3 separate regions of the Homo sapiens genome follow, and all the other regions are linked to region 2. Evidence: promoter capture Hi-C in 16 types of primary human blood cells and fetal thymus (Javierre and others, 2016). All regions are on one chromosome and are shown on one strand. Each heading gives the region's core, a stretch centred on a gene start or on the middle of the fragment in contact. The rest is flanking DNA. Distances are from core to core; before and after follow the strand shown. Region 1 has its middle 2.6 kb from the start of ZNF563. Region 2 holds the start of ZNF625-ZNF20 (ZNF625-ZNF20 readthrough (NMD candidate)). Region 3 has its middle 6.0 kb from the start of ZNF442.

Region 1 (4,060 bases), core at 1,225-3,724, 180 kb before region 2:
GACAGATTCTGCCAGTAAAACTGTTGTCTAGGTGGGGAGACAGCTTCTTTATGCTTGGTACCCTGCCATCTACCCTGAATCCTCTGCCCTGAGGGTTTTTTGTTTGTTTGTTTTCTTCCTTTCTTTCTTTTTTAGACAGTGTCTCACTCTGTTGCCAAAGCTGGAGTGCAGCAGTGTGATCATAGCTCACTCCAGTCTTGACCTCCTAGACTCAAGTGATCCTCCTGCCTCAGTCTCCTGAATAGCTAGGACTACAGTTCTATGCCACCATGCTCGGCTAATTTTTATTTATTTATTTATTTATTGGTAGACATGGTGGTTTTACTCTGTTCCCCAGGCTGGTCTTGAACTTCTAGCCTTGGCCTCTCAAAGGGCGGAGTTAACAGGTATGAACCACTGCACCTGGCTTTGCCCTGAGTTTTTACACTAATATATTATTTCATGTCTCACATTAAATGTCACCTTCTCAGGGTTCTTCATACCACCTCAGTGACTCTTACATGTTTTTATTTGTAGAATTTTTTTCCTGGCACTTTTTAGATTCAGGGAAATCCAATTAAGGTTGACAGAATGTTTTGGTTTCTTAACTGTTGAAAAGTTAAATCATATAAATGAAACCAAACTGAATGGTGTTATGTTTACTTTTATCATCTGTATTGCTGTGTATGAAAGTACCCCAGAAAACCGGAAAACCATTTTTAAAAGCCTTTTTCCAGAAAGGAAAATAAAATGGCCAGACAGCGTGGCTCACACCTGTAATCCCAGCAGTTTGGGAGGCCAAGGTGGGTGGATCATCTGAGTCTAAGAGTTTAGACCAGCCTGGCCAACGTGGTGAAACCCTATCTTTACAAAAAAATACAAAAATTAGCCAGGCATGGTGGGACATGCCTGCAGTCCCAGCCTCTCGGGAGGCTGAGGTAGGAGGATCGCTTGAGCCCAGGAGGTTGAGGCTGCAGTGAGCCATGATGGTGCCACTGCATTCCAGTGTAGGTGATGGAGCGAGAGCTCGTCTCAAAAAAAAAGAGAGAAATAAGCTAACTGTTGTGGTAAGGGGTGACATTAATATTATTCACACATCCTTTCTCTGGTGCGGATTTCTCAGGGTTGTGCTGAGACCTCCAGTATTTACAGCAGCTGATAGTCACTTAGAATATTCTGTCTGTGCCCTCACTGAGCAGGTAGTGACACAGGTTAAGAAGAACAGAAGCAAATAAAATGGATGTGTCCTCACCCAAGACATTACTATCTGAGAAGACTGTTTCAAATGAATAAATGAAACTGTGGGCATGAGAACCACAGGTGAATTCAACCTGGGCCAGTTTGCTTAAAAGGAAAATGTATTTGTACAATACTTAGGATTTAGATACAGATATGACTGTTTGGGTCAATGGTGTGGGCTGGGGTTGAGAGGGGGTTTCAGATGGATAAATGGGACATGTCCATCCCCAGGCACAGAGCACATGATGTCAACCCTGAGCTATGAAGGTCAGGGAGTGACTGAAGCCAAGGAGAGAGGAGAGCTCACATTTAATTAGTTGTTTTACACAACAGTTTGCTAAGGTAAAAATAATAGTTTGTTAGCATGTTTGTTTCTCAACAGAATAATTATTTACCAGTTGGTTTTGTTTGCTTGTTTGTTTTTGAGACGGAGTCTCGCTCTGTCGCCCAAGCTGGAGTACAATGGTGCGATCTTAGCTCACCACAACCTCCACCTCCTGGGTTCACGCGATTCTCCTGCCTCAGCCTCCTGAGTAGCTGGGATTACAGGCACGCACCACCATGCCCAGCTAATTTTTAGTATTTTTAGTAGAGACGGGGTTTCACCATGTTGGTCAGGCTGGTCTTGAACTCCTGACGTTGTGATCTGCCCGCCTCAGCCTCCCAAAGTGTTGGAATTGCAGGTGTGAGCCACCGCGCCTGGCCTTGTTTTGTTTTTGAGGAACCAAGATCTCCCCGTGTTGCCCAGACTGGTCTCCAATTCCTGGGCTCAAGCAATCCTCCTGCCCCTGCCTCCTAAAGTGCTGGGATTACAGGCCCAAGGCACCATGCCCAGTCCATTTACCAGTTTCCAAATCCCTATTAAATATCTTATATATATTTTTTCCACTACTTTATATATAGACACAGGAAGAAACCCAAGATTGTCAATTTTTTATTCAAACAGTGGAATTGAGGGTCTTTGTTTCAATTAACTCATCAGTGCTGGTGAGAAGCAAGTGAAGACTCTTACAGAGGCCATGGGGAACATTCCCTTTTGCCCTCTGATGTTTTGCTGAATTAATTGGAGAGAAGGCAGATTAATTGGAGGAAAAGCATACAAATTTTATTTAACGCGTATATCCAGGAAGCTTCAGAATGAAGACCCAGAGATACAAAGGAAATTGTTCATTTTAATGCTTAGGCTTAATGTATGGACAGCCGTGTAGAAATGTGATTAGATTGAAAGAGTATGATCCAATGCTAACAGACTGAGTGGGGAAACCCAACAAGGCCTGTGTGTCTAGATTGTTCTTGGCCTTTCTGAGCATGCATTCCTTCCTTCTCAGTATGAGGCAGGACCCACTCTGAAATGGAGGGTCTTATGACCTACAGCAAGCTTGTCCAACCCATGGCCCAGGAAGGCTTTGGATGCAGCCCAACACAAATTCATGATCTTTCTTAAAACATTAGGAATTTTTGTTTTTGCTATATATTTTTAAGCTCATTAGCTATTGTTAGTGTTAGTGTATTTTATATGTGGCCCAAGACGATTCATCTTCTTCCAATGTGGCCCAGGGAAGCCCCAGGGCCACCCTGACCTGCAGTCAAACAAAGTTGGACAGTTAATTTGCTTATGGCCAGTTTTTACACAGAAAGGACAATGGAAAGTTAGAGTAGTATGTTTTGATTTTATGCCTGGATTTAGGGGAAAAGGGTTCTGGATTCTACGACCCACTTTGGAGAAGAGAGATTCTAGTTTCTAAGGCTAGCCTTGGATAGAAGAGTAGGACTAAGAGTCCCAAGAATGGGACTAAGTTTTTCCTCTGCCCTCTGTGGAGAAAAAACTTTTGCTTCTGAGGCTTCTTCCAAGGTCTTCTTTTTGGGGTATTGTTTTCTGAGCCCCAGCCACCTGGAGTGGGCAGCAGAGTTTGAACCAGTGACTCTACACCGAGCCCATTCTGAAGGCTGCAAAGGGAGAGAAATGGAGCCCCCTTTGGTGCTTCCTCAGCAGCCTGCGCACGCCTCCACGTAGCACGAAGCTGCACATAGAATCAGAATTTACCATTTATGTGTTAGGAAAATCTGGGTAAAGGGTTTATGAATTTGACAGTTTATGTAGGTCAGTACCTTAAAGTAACCTTTTTTTTTTTTTTTTTTTTTTTTTTGAGACCAGGTCTCACTCTGTCACCCAGGCTGGAATGCCGTGGCACGATCTCGGCTCACTGCAACCTCCGCCTCCCAGGTTCAAGTGATTCTCCTGCCTCAGCCTCCCGAGTAGCTGGGATTACAGGTGCCCGCCACCATGCCCAGCTAATTTTTGTATTTTTAGTAGAGATGTGGTTTCACCATGTTGGCCAGGCTGGTCTCCAACTGGTGACCTCAGGTGATTCACCCGCCTCGGCCTCCCAAAGTGCTGGGATTGCAGGCGTGAGCCACCGCCCCGGGCCCTTAAACTAACTTTACATGAAACTTTCCTGTTGGTGAAAATGCACATCTTGACGGTGGGGGCATTTCCACACTCTGCAGAGGGCACAGGGAAGTATGTTGAGCTCCCAGAGTCAAATCCTTCAGTGTCCCAGTCTCATCACCAGGTTTTGGTTCACTCTGGGGTTCCATTTCAACAGTTAAGAGTGGCTGCCAAGTTTGGGCATATGTTTAGCCTCCTGAATGGGACGTTTGCTGAAGTATGAGGGCAGCAGGCTGCTTATCTGCACTAGTTCAAGTTTTTGCTTTTTTTTTCCTGTTGTATTTTTGTTTTGATTCATTCATTCATTTATTGCTGCCGTGTGATTTCAGTTCTTCCACACATTTGATATTTTAATACCGTTCTTGACTTGTTTTTATTTCCTTGGCTGAAAAT
Region 2 (3,925 bases), core at 1,408-3,907:
CTGACACTGTTGTCTTCCTGTACTCAGTGGGCCCTTCTTTCAGGGGAGGTGGGGGTGGGGGGAGGGGGTTTGAGGTGGGGAGGTTGTCTGCCTTGAGGTCTAGTCAGGCCAACACTGGAAGAGGAGAGAGGCCTGATGTCGTCAGAGATTATAAATTTGGGATGAGGGATAGCCAAAGATTTTTCATACTTTATCTCTCAGTCTACTCATTTTCACTCAAGAAAACAACAAGCCAACAACAGAATAAAACTAAGTGCATGGAAAAGCTGGAATTATATGGCAGCTATATATATACACATATATATACATATATGTGTATATATATACTTATATATGTGTTTGTATATATACACATATATGTGTATATATACAAACACATATATAAGTGTGTGTGTGTATATATATATATATATATATATATATATATATATATATATGTTTTTTTTTTTTTGAAACGGAGTCTCGCTCTGTCGCCCAGCTGGAGTTCAGTGGCACAATCTCAGTTCACTGCAACCTCCATCTCCCGGGTTCAAGCGATTCTCCTGCCTCGGCCTCCTGAGTAGCTGGGATTACAGGCGTGTGCCACCACGCCCGGCTAATTTTTGTATTTTTAGTAGAGACGGGGTTTCACCATGTTGGTCAGGCTGGTCTCGAACTCCTGACTTCGTGATCCGCCCGCCTCGGCCTCCCAAAGTGCTGGGATTACAGGCGTGAGCCACCGCGCCCAGCCGGCAGCAATATTTTATAAAGGAATCAAAAGAAAAGTAAAGCAAACATTTGAAGTAGTTCAGATAAGCAGCCTGCTTCATGCACAGTTCACAAGGAAAACCCTCTGTCAGAAGGTAAATGATATTTCCAAGCTTGGAAGCCAAACTGTGACTGCTGAAATGGAGCCCCCCAGGGCGGGTCAGTCCCAGATGATGAGGCAGAGAAAATTAAGGATTTATCTGGGAGTTTGAAATGCCCTTCTGTCCCCTCCTCAGTTTAGAAATTATTCTCTCCTTTAAGACCTTCATTTTCACCAACAGGAAGCTCTCGACTTGAGTCAGTTTAAGCTAAATTTACTGTTAAATTCATAAACCCGCAGGGCGCGGTGGCTCACGCCTGTAATCCCAGCACTTTGGGAAGCCGAGGCGGACGGATCACGAGGTCAGGAGATCGAGACAATCCTGGCTAACACGGTGAAACCCCGTCTCTACTAAAAATACAAAAAATTAGCCGGGCGTGGTGGCAGGCGCCTGTAGTCCCAGCTACTTGGGAGGTTGAGGCAGGAGAATGGCATGAACCCGGGCGGGAGGCGGAGCTTGCAGTGAGCCGAGATTGCGCCACTGCACTCCAGCCCGGACGACAGAGCGAGACTCCGTCTCAAAAAAAATGATAATAAATACAATAAAATAAAATAATAAATAAAAATTCATAAACCCTTTCTCCAGGAGGCATCCCAAATGGGTCTTGCTCTAATTCTGACCTTCACAGATTTTCTTTTTCTTTTTCTTTCTTTTTTTTTTTTGAGACAGTCTAGCCCTGTCGCCCAGGCTGGAGTGCAGTGGCGCAATCTCGGCTCACTGCAAGCTCCGCCTCCCGGGTTCACGCCATTCTCCTGCCTCAGCCTCCCGAGTAGCTGGGACTATAGGCGCCCGCCACCGCACCCGACTAATTTTTTGTATTTTTAGTAGAGACGGGGCTTCTCCGTGTTAGCCAGGATGGTCTTGATTTCCTGACCTCGTGATCCGCCCGCGTCGGCCTCCCAAAGTGCTGGGATTATAGGCGTGAGCCACCGCTCCCGGCCGTAAAGATTTTTAAATAATAAAAACAGGGGTCTAGGGTGGGGGGATGTGGGAGGGATAACATTAGGAGATATACCTAATGTAAATGACGAGTTAATGGGTACAGCACACCAACATGGCGCATGTATACATATGTAACAAACCTGCACATTGTGCGCATGTACCCTAGAACTTAAAGTTTAATAAATAAAAATTAAAAAAAAAAAACAACAAAACAGGGGTATTCTTGTGTTGACCAAGTTGGTCTTTAACTCTTTACTTTAAGGGATCCTCCAGTCTTGGCCTCCCAAAGTGCTAGGATTACAGGCGTGAACCACCGCACCCTGCCTGTGTTCAGGTCACAATCTCTTCTAGCTTGGATAAAGGGAAAGAAATAAAGGGGGAGAGGGCATGGTTTCATCAATGGAGATTCTCTGCAGATGCAAATTCCCCCCCTCCAAAGACAGCTTTGCCAGTCCACTTTTTTTTGCGGCCGAGCCACAGCCATTTCAAAATCTGTCAAATAAATATATTTTGGCGTAAAATATTTTAATTTCCTTCACCTCCACTGGACTCTGAGTCTGGAATTTCCTGTGCAAGACAAAGGAGCAGGGACAGCCCATTGAGTGAGGAAGACAACGGTACCCCCTCTAGCAATTCGGAGCAAATTTGGCTGAAATGCAAATACCCAAAGAGCAAGACGCAGGGAGGGAGCTCGCTTAGATAATCTGTGGTTGGAACAGGTCATTTCGGTTCTGCCGGGCCTTGTTACCCAGGGCTTCCGCTGTCACTCAGGACCGATGGGACGGGGACTGGAGCCTCATCCAATCAGGGGCGCTGGGGCGGGGTCCTGCCAACTGTCCATCCGGGGAAGGGGAGGCCGCATTCCCGCTTTCCTGACTCCCAGGCGTCTTGCACCAAAGGGAGGTCGGGATCTCGGTTTTCCGGCCCCGAGAGGGACCAGGTGCCTCCGCCATAGCTTCTGTCGCTCCATCGCCCGCACTGTGACTGGACTGTTAGAGGGATCCGTGGAGAGGAGGCCAGGACACCTGGAAGCCGGGAAATGGTGAGTGTGCGGGGCCGGGGGTCCCGAGACGGGGGAGGGGCCGGGAGGAACCGGCTCGAACCGGCTCTAGCAGGACCCAGGCCTTCCTGCAGCGACTTCGGGTCTGCAGAGCGGAGTCCCCCTGGCGTAGCTCGGCCCTCGGTCCCTTCGGCCGCAGGGTGGGGTTGGGCCGGCAGCCGGGACCCCAGGCGTCCTGTCCCGTCTCTGCGCTGCGACTGCGACCCCGGCCCTGGCCCCGGCCCCGGAGCCCTCTCTGGGGAGCTCCGCGCCCGTAGTCCCGCGTCTCCCCAGATTGTGCGGAGACCACGGGAGGGTCATGGAGGCAATCCTGCCTCGGGTGTGTGGTTCGTGTGGGAGGAGCGGTGGGCTGCGGGGTCCCCAGTCCCCCCTTTTTTCCTGAAAAACTAAATTGAAGGCCAGGCGCAGTGGGTCACGCCTGGCAGGTTGAGGCGGGGGGATTGCTTCAGCCCAGAAATTCGAGACCAGCCTAGGCAACATACCGAGACCCTAGTTTCTATTAAAAATAAATTTTTAAAAAATGAGCCGGGCGTGGTGCCGCCCACCTGTAATCCCAGCTACTGGGGGGCTGAGGTGGGAGGATCGCTTGAGGGAGGAGATTGGGACTGCAGTGAGCCGAGATCGCGCCACTGCACTCCAGCCTGGGCGACTGAGCGAGACCCTGTCTCAAACAAAACAAAACAAAAACAACAGCAACAAACTAAACTGAGTCCTCTTAAAAATTAAAGAGTTTTGCTTCTCAGAATAGGAGTTTGAAAAAAATGAATGAGAAATGTTTCCTGAATGAGAAACACCCAGTCATGGCTTGCAGTTTGATAACGGAAAGAGCAAAACTCTGCAAAATAACTTGAACTATGTTCTACGCCGAATATGAGAGAACGTGACCAAGGGAAACAACCGCATGTAGCCTCGAGTAAGTGGTCCCCAGGAGGTTCGATGGCAGTTTGGTTTTATTCATTTCAGCGAGACAGGAATTGCAGGGAAAAGATCAATCAAGGCATGGAAGGCTGACAGGGCAGGACACGTAGAAGCGGGGCTTAGAAGGCACAGGTGGTTGAGGGATTCTGTAGTTGGC
Region 3 (4,553 bases), core at 1,724-4,223, 210 kb before region 2:
TTTCCTACTTATGGAGTAAATGTATACTGCATTTACAATAACATGTACTGTATGCTATTGAATTAAAATCACATTTCTTGCAAAAATATATAAATTTCTGAGGAATAGGGCTAATTTCTTTTTTTTTTTTTGAAGGTTTTTAAAAAATGTTTATTTTATATACAAAGAACTATCCTGGTTTTTCATTGGGTAGGTGCTTTGGATAACCCTTTGAAGGAAGGTCATTTAGTCCAACTTAATGAAACCTACATCCTTCGCATACTTACAGAAACACTGGCGGCACATATTGAGACCATATTTCCGGATCAGACCATGCTGGTTTGAACAGATGCGACAAGAGTGAGAACCGGTGTCTCCAGTACAGCTGGTGACCCATCTTGCGCTCAGGTAAAAGCCTTTCTTTCTTTTATTTTTAAAGACAGAGTCTTACTTTGTCACCCAGGCTGGAGTGTAATTGGGGGATCACAGCTCACTGCAACCTCTGCCTCCCGGGCTCAAGCGATCCTCCCACCTCAGCCTCCCAAGTAGCTGGGACTATAGGTGTGCGCCACCATGCCTGGCTAATTTTTTTTTGTTTTTGGTAAAGGCGGGGTTTTGCCATGTTGCCCAGGCTGGTCTCCAACTCCTTAACTCAAGCAATCCACCCACTGTGGCCTCCCAAAGTACTGGGATTACAGGCGTGAGCCACTCACTGCGTCCAGCCTAGGGCTAATTTCATGTGCAGCATCTGTCTATGTTTCCTGATGAAATGATGTAAGTGTCAATTGACGTAAGTGTCACCTCCATGGATATACATATTAATACAACTTTGGTAGATTGACGATTCCTTATCATAACTCACACTGGCTAGATATGCTATAAATGTAATTTAGAAAACTCAGATCCGGCTGGGTGCGGTGGCTGACACCTGTAATCCCAGCACTTTGGGAGGCCAAGGCGGGCAGATCACGATGTCAGGAGATCAAGACCATCCTGGCCAACATGGTGAAACCCTGTCTCTACTAAAAATACAAAAATTAGCTGGGCATGGTGGCATGTGCCTATAGTCCCATCTACTCAGGAGGCTGAGGCAGAAGAATTGCTTGAACCCCAGAGGCAGAGGTAGCAGTGAGTTGAGATCGTGCCACTGCACTCTATCCTGGGCGACAGAGTGAGACTCCATCTCCAAAAAAAGAAAACTCACATCCAAATTCACTCGTGCAAAATGTGCCAGAAAATTTGGAACATCAAAGAATTGTCATAAAAGGTGTAACTCTATTGTCTTTATCAGTGCCTCCTGCTTAAAGTGGATCTGGACTATGGATTCCTACATCTTACTTTCAGAAAAAAACACATCAAGGTGAGAGAATTCTGTAAATAAGTTCTCTTGACACATAAATTCATGAGTTGAATAGGTAGTGTTTTTTGATGAAATCAGTTAATAAAAATTTGTCTTTTATATTCCTCTAGATGATTGCATTGATTGAAGTGTATTTCTTTTTTCTCTTTTTTTTTTTGGAGATGGAGTCTTGCTCTTGTCACCTAGGCTGGAGTGCAGTGGTGCTATCTGGGCTCACTGCAACCTCCACCTCCTAGGTTCAAGCGATTCTCCTGCCTCAGCCTCCCAAGTAGCTGGGATTACAGGCGCCCGCCACCATGTCTGGATAATTTTTTTGTATTTTTAGTAGAGATGGGGTTTCACCATGTTGGCCAGGCTGGTCTCAAACTCCTGACCTCAGGTAATCCGCCCACCTTGGCCTCCCAAAGTGCTGGGATTACAGGTGTGAGCCTCCACCCCCGGCCTCTGCATGTATGTCTTCTTTGGAAAAATGTCTATTCATGTCCTTTGACTATTTTTTAATGGTGGTGTTTGTTTTTCTCTTGTAAATTTCTTTGTTTCTTATAGGTGGTAGATATTAGACCTTTGTCAGATGTATAGTTTGAAGATGTTTTTCCTATTTTGTAGGTTGTCTGTTTACTCTGTTGATAGTTCCTTTTGCTGTACAGAAGCTCTTAAATTTAATTAGATCCCACTTGTCAATGTTTTCTTTTGTTGCAATTGCTTTTGTTGTCTTTGCCATGAAATGTTTGCCTGTTCCTGTGTACAGGATGGTATTGCCTAGGTTTTCTTCCAGGGTGTTTATAGTTTGAGGTTTTACATTTAAGTCTTTATCCATCCTGAGTTGATTTTTGTATATGGTGTAAGGAAGGGGTCCAGCTTCAGTCTTCTGCCTATGGCTAGCCAGTTAAACCATAACCATTTATTGAATAGGAAGTCTTTTCCCCATTGCTTGATTTTGTCAGCTTTGTCCAAGATCAGGTGGTCATAGGTGTGTGGCCTTATTTCTGGACTCCATTCTATTCTGAATTTTTTCCTCATGGTTATATGAGTGTTTATTTTTGTCTGGAAGCTTTTGTAAGAATTTAAATCAACACAGTAATGAACTAGTTAATTGCTGCAATTTGTAAAAATATGCAAAATCTGAACATAAACCCCTGACACCACCTTTGACCCACTGCACCCTGTTTTCACAACTGTCTAGGAAAAAGTAAGTATATAATATTACTCCAAAGGCAGTTAATGTGAAAGGTTGATGAAGCATCTTACAGAAAGATGGTTGATTCTTCAGAGAGAGAACAGTCTTGTGATAATAGATTGTGAGTGTGTGTGTGCATGTGTGTGTAATTTTTAAAGGCATGAATATCATTCATTAGTTATAATCAGACATCTTTTTTTTCTTGTTTTTCAAACTTGCCAATTTGTCTTGTCAGGAAACACTACAATTATCACAAGTTGATTCAGGATTTTGTTTCATTGAATTACACTTGATGTTTGGCTTCTTTCTTTTTAGCCATGGGTTCCAGCTTCCAATTCATGATGCTTTTATATCTGGTACTTTTGTTACTGGGCCAGTCCTGGAAAAATAGCTGAGAAAGCAAAACAGCTGAAATGGCTAATTATTTTCTTTTTCTTTTCTTTCTTTTCTTTCTTTTTTTTTTTTTTTGAGATGGGGTCTCACTCTGTTGCCCAGGCTGGAGTGCAATGGTGCGGTCTTGGCTCACTGCAACCTCCGCCTTCCGGGTTGAAGCGACTCTCCTGCCTCAGCCTCCCGAGTAGCTGGGATTACAGGCGCCCACCACCACACCCAGATAATTTTTGTATTTTTAGTAGAGACGGGGTCTCACCGTGTTGGCCAGGCTGATCTTGAACTCCTGACCTCGTGATTCACCTGCCTCGGCCTGCCAAGGTGCTGGGATTACAGGCGTGAGCCACCATGCCCAGCCGCTAATTATTTTCTGAAAAAGTGGATAACATTTTTTTTTCCTAGTCTGTTTATCTTTAGGTATGCTAGCTTACTAGGACTCCAGATGGCCTGGGAGCTTCAGGACCCTTTGCCAATTATCAGAATAAGATAAGGCCTGCTCAAAACCAGAGTAAACCAGAACCAGTGACCCCTTGTTGCCTTTAGATCAGGGATCCCCAATCCCTGGGCCATGGATCGGTACCAGACTGTGGCCTGTTAGGAGCTAGGCCACACAGCAGAAGGTGAGCAGCGGGCGAGTAAGCAAAGCTTTACCTGTATTTACAGCCACTTCCCATCACTCACATTACTACCTGAGCTCTGCCTTCTGTCATATCAGAGGCAGCATTAGATTCTCATAGGAGCACGAACCCTATTGTGAGCTGCGCACACAAGGGATCCAGGTTGCATGCACCTTATGAGATTCTGGAAGATCTGTCACTGTCTCCCACCACCCCCAGAAGGGACCATCTAGTTGCAGGAAAACAAGCTCAGGGCTCCCACTGATTCTATAGTATGGCGAGCTGTACAATTACATCATTATATATTACAATGTAATAATATTTAAGTGCACAATCAATGTAATGTACTTGAATCACCCCAAAACCATCCCCACTCCAGTACATGGAAAAATTATCTTCTAAGAAACTAGTCCCTGTGCCAAAAAGGTTAGGAACTGCTGGTTTAGATCACTGATACCTTATTGTAAGATGAAAATCCCCACCCACAGAAGAAAGTCACGGCAGCTTTCTCGTCGTGTTTTTTTTTTTTTAGATGGAGTCTAGCTTTGTCGCCAGGCTGGAGTGCAGTGACACGATCTCAGCTCACTGCAACTTCTGCCTCCTGGGTTCAAGTGATTCTCCTGCCTCAGCCTCCTGAGTAGCTGGGATTACAGGCATGCACCACCACGCCCAGCTAATTTTTATTTTATTTTATTGTTTTAGTAGAGACGGGGTTTCACTATGTTACCCAGGATGGTCTCGATCTCCTGACCTCGTGATCCGCCTGCCTCAGCCTCCCAAAGTGCTAGGATTACAGGTGTAAGCCACTGCGCCCGGCCCATTGTTTTGTTTTGAGATGGAGTTTCGCTCTTGTTGCCCAGGCTGGAGTGCTCACTGCAACCCCTGCCTCCTGGGTTCAAGCGATTCTCTTGCCTCAGCCTCCCAAGTAGCTGGGATTATAGGCGTGCACCACCATGCCTGGCTAATTTCGTATTTTTAGTAGAGATGGGGTTTCTCCATGTCGGTCAGGCTGGTTTCAAACTCCCGACCT

Evidence for each region. Contacts are between HindIII fragments. The CHiCAGO score rates a contact against its expected background, and 5 or more counts as called.
Region 1: a fragment that was not itself captured here is called in contact with the fragment with the promoter of ZNF625-ZNF20 in region 2 in 2 of 17 cell types (total CD8 T cells and non-activated CD4 T cells); the score reaches 5.6 in total CD8 T cells.
Region 3: a contact is called between a fragment that was not itself captured here and the fragment with the promoter of ZNF625-ZNF20 in region 2, in 1 of 17 cell types (endothelial precursors). The highest score is 5.1, in endothelial precursors.

What each region holds. Positions count from the first base shown.
Region 1 is chr19:12,334,174-12,338,233 of GRCh38, reverse strand. It overlaps a transcript of ZNF563 not described here. Among named protein-coding and RNA genes, the nearest start is that of ZNF563, 2.6 kb to the right of the region's middle. RefSeq lists an enhancer at 3,680-4,060. The HindIII fragment of the contact is 248 bases long and covers 2,351-2,598 here.
Region 2 is chr19:12,155,463-12,159,387 of GRCh38, reverse strand. It overlaps ZNF625-ZNF20 (ZNF625-ZNF20 readthrough (NMD candidate)), which reads left to right and starts at 2,657. Exons shown (of 8, transcript NR_037802.1): 1 at 2,657-2,832. ZNF625 (zinc finger protein 625) reads left to right here and starts at 2,654. Exons shown (of 4, transcript NM_145233.4): 1 at 2,654-2,832. The coding sequence starts at 2,830. RefSeq lists enhancers at 2,628-2,737, 2,300-2,991 and a silencer at 2,968-3,137. The HindIII fragment of the contact is 6,672 bases long and covers 863-3,925 here.
Region 3 is chr19:12,369,404-12,373,956 of GRCh38, reverse strand. It overlaps a transcript of ZNF442 not described here and the pseudogene RPS29P23. Among named protein-coding and RNA genes, the nearest start is that of ZNF442, 6.0 kb to the right of the region's middle. The HindIII fragment of the contact is 1,161 bases long and covers 2,393-3,553 here.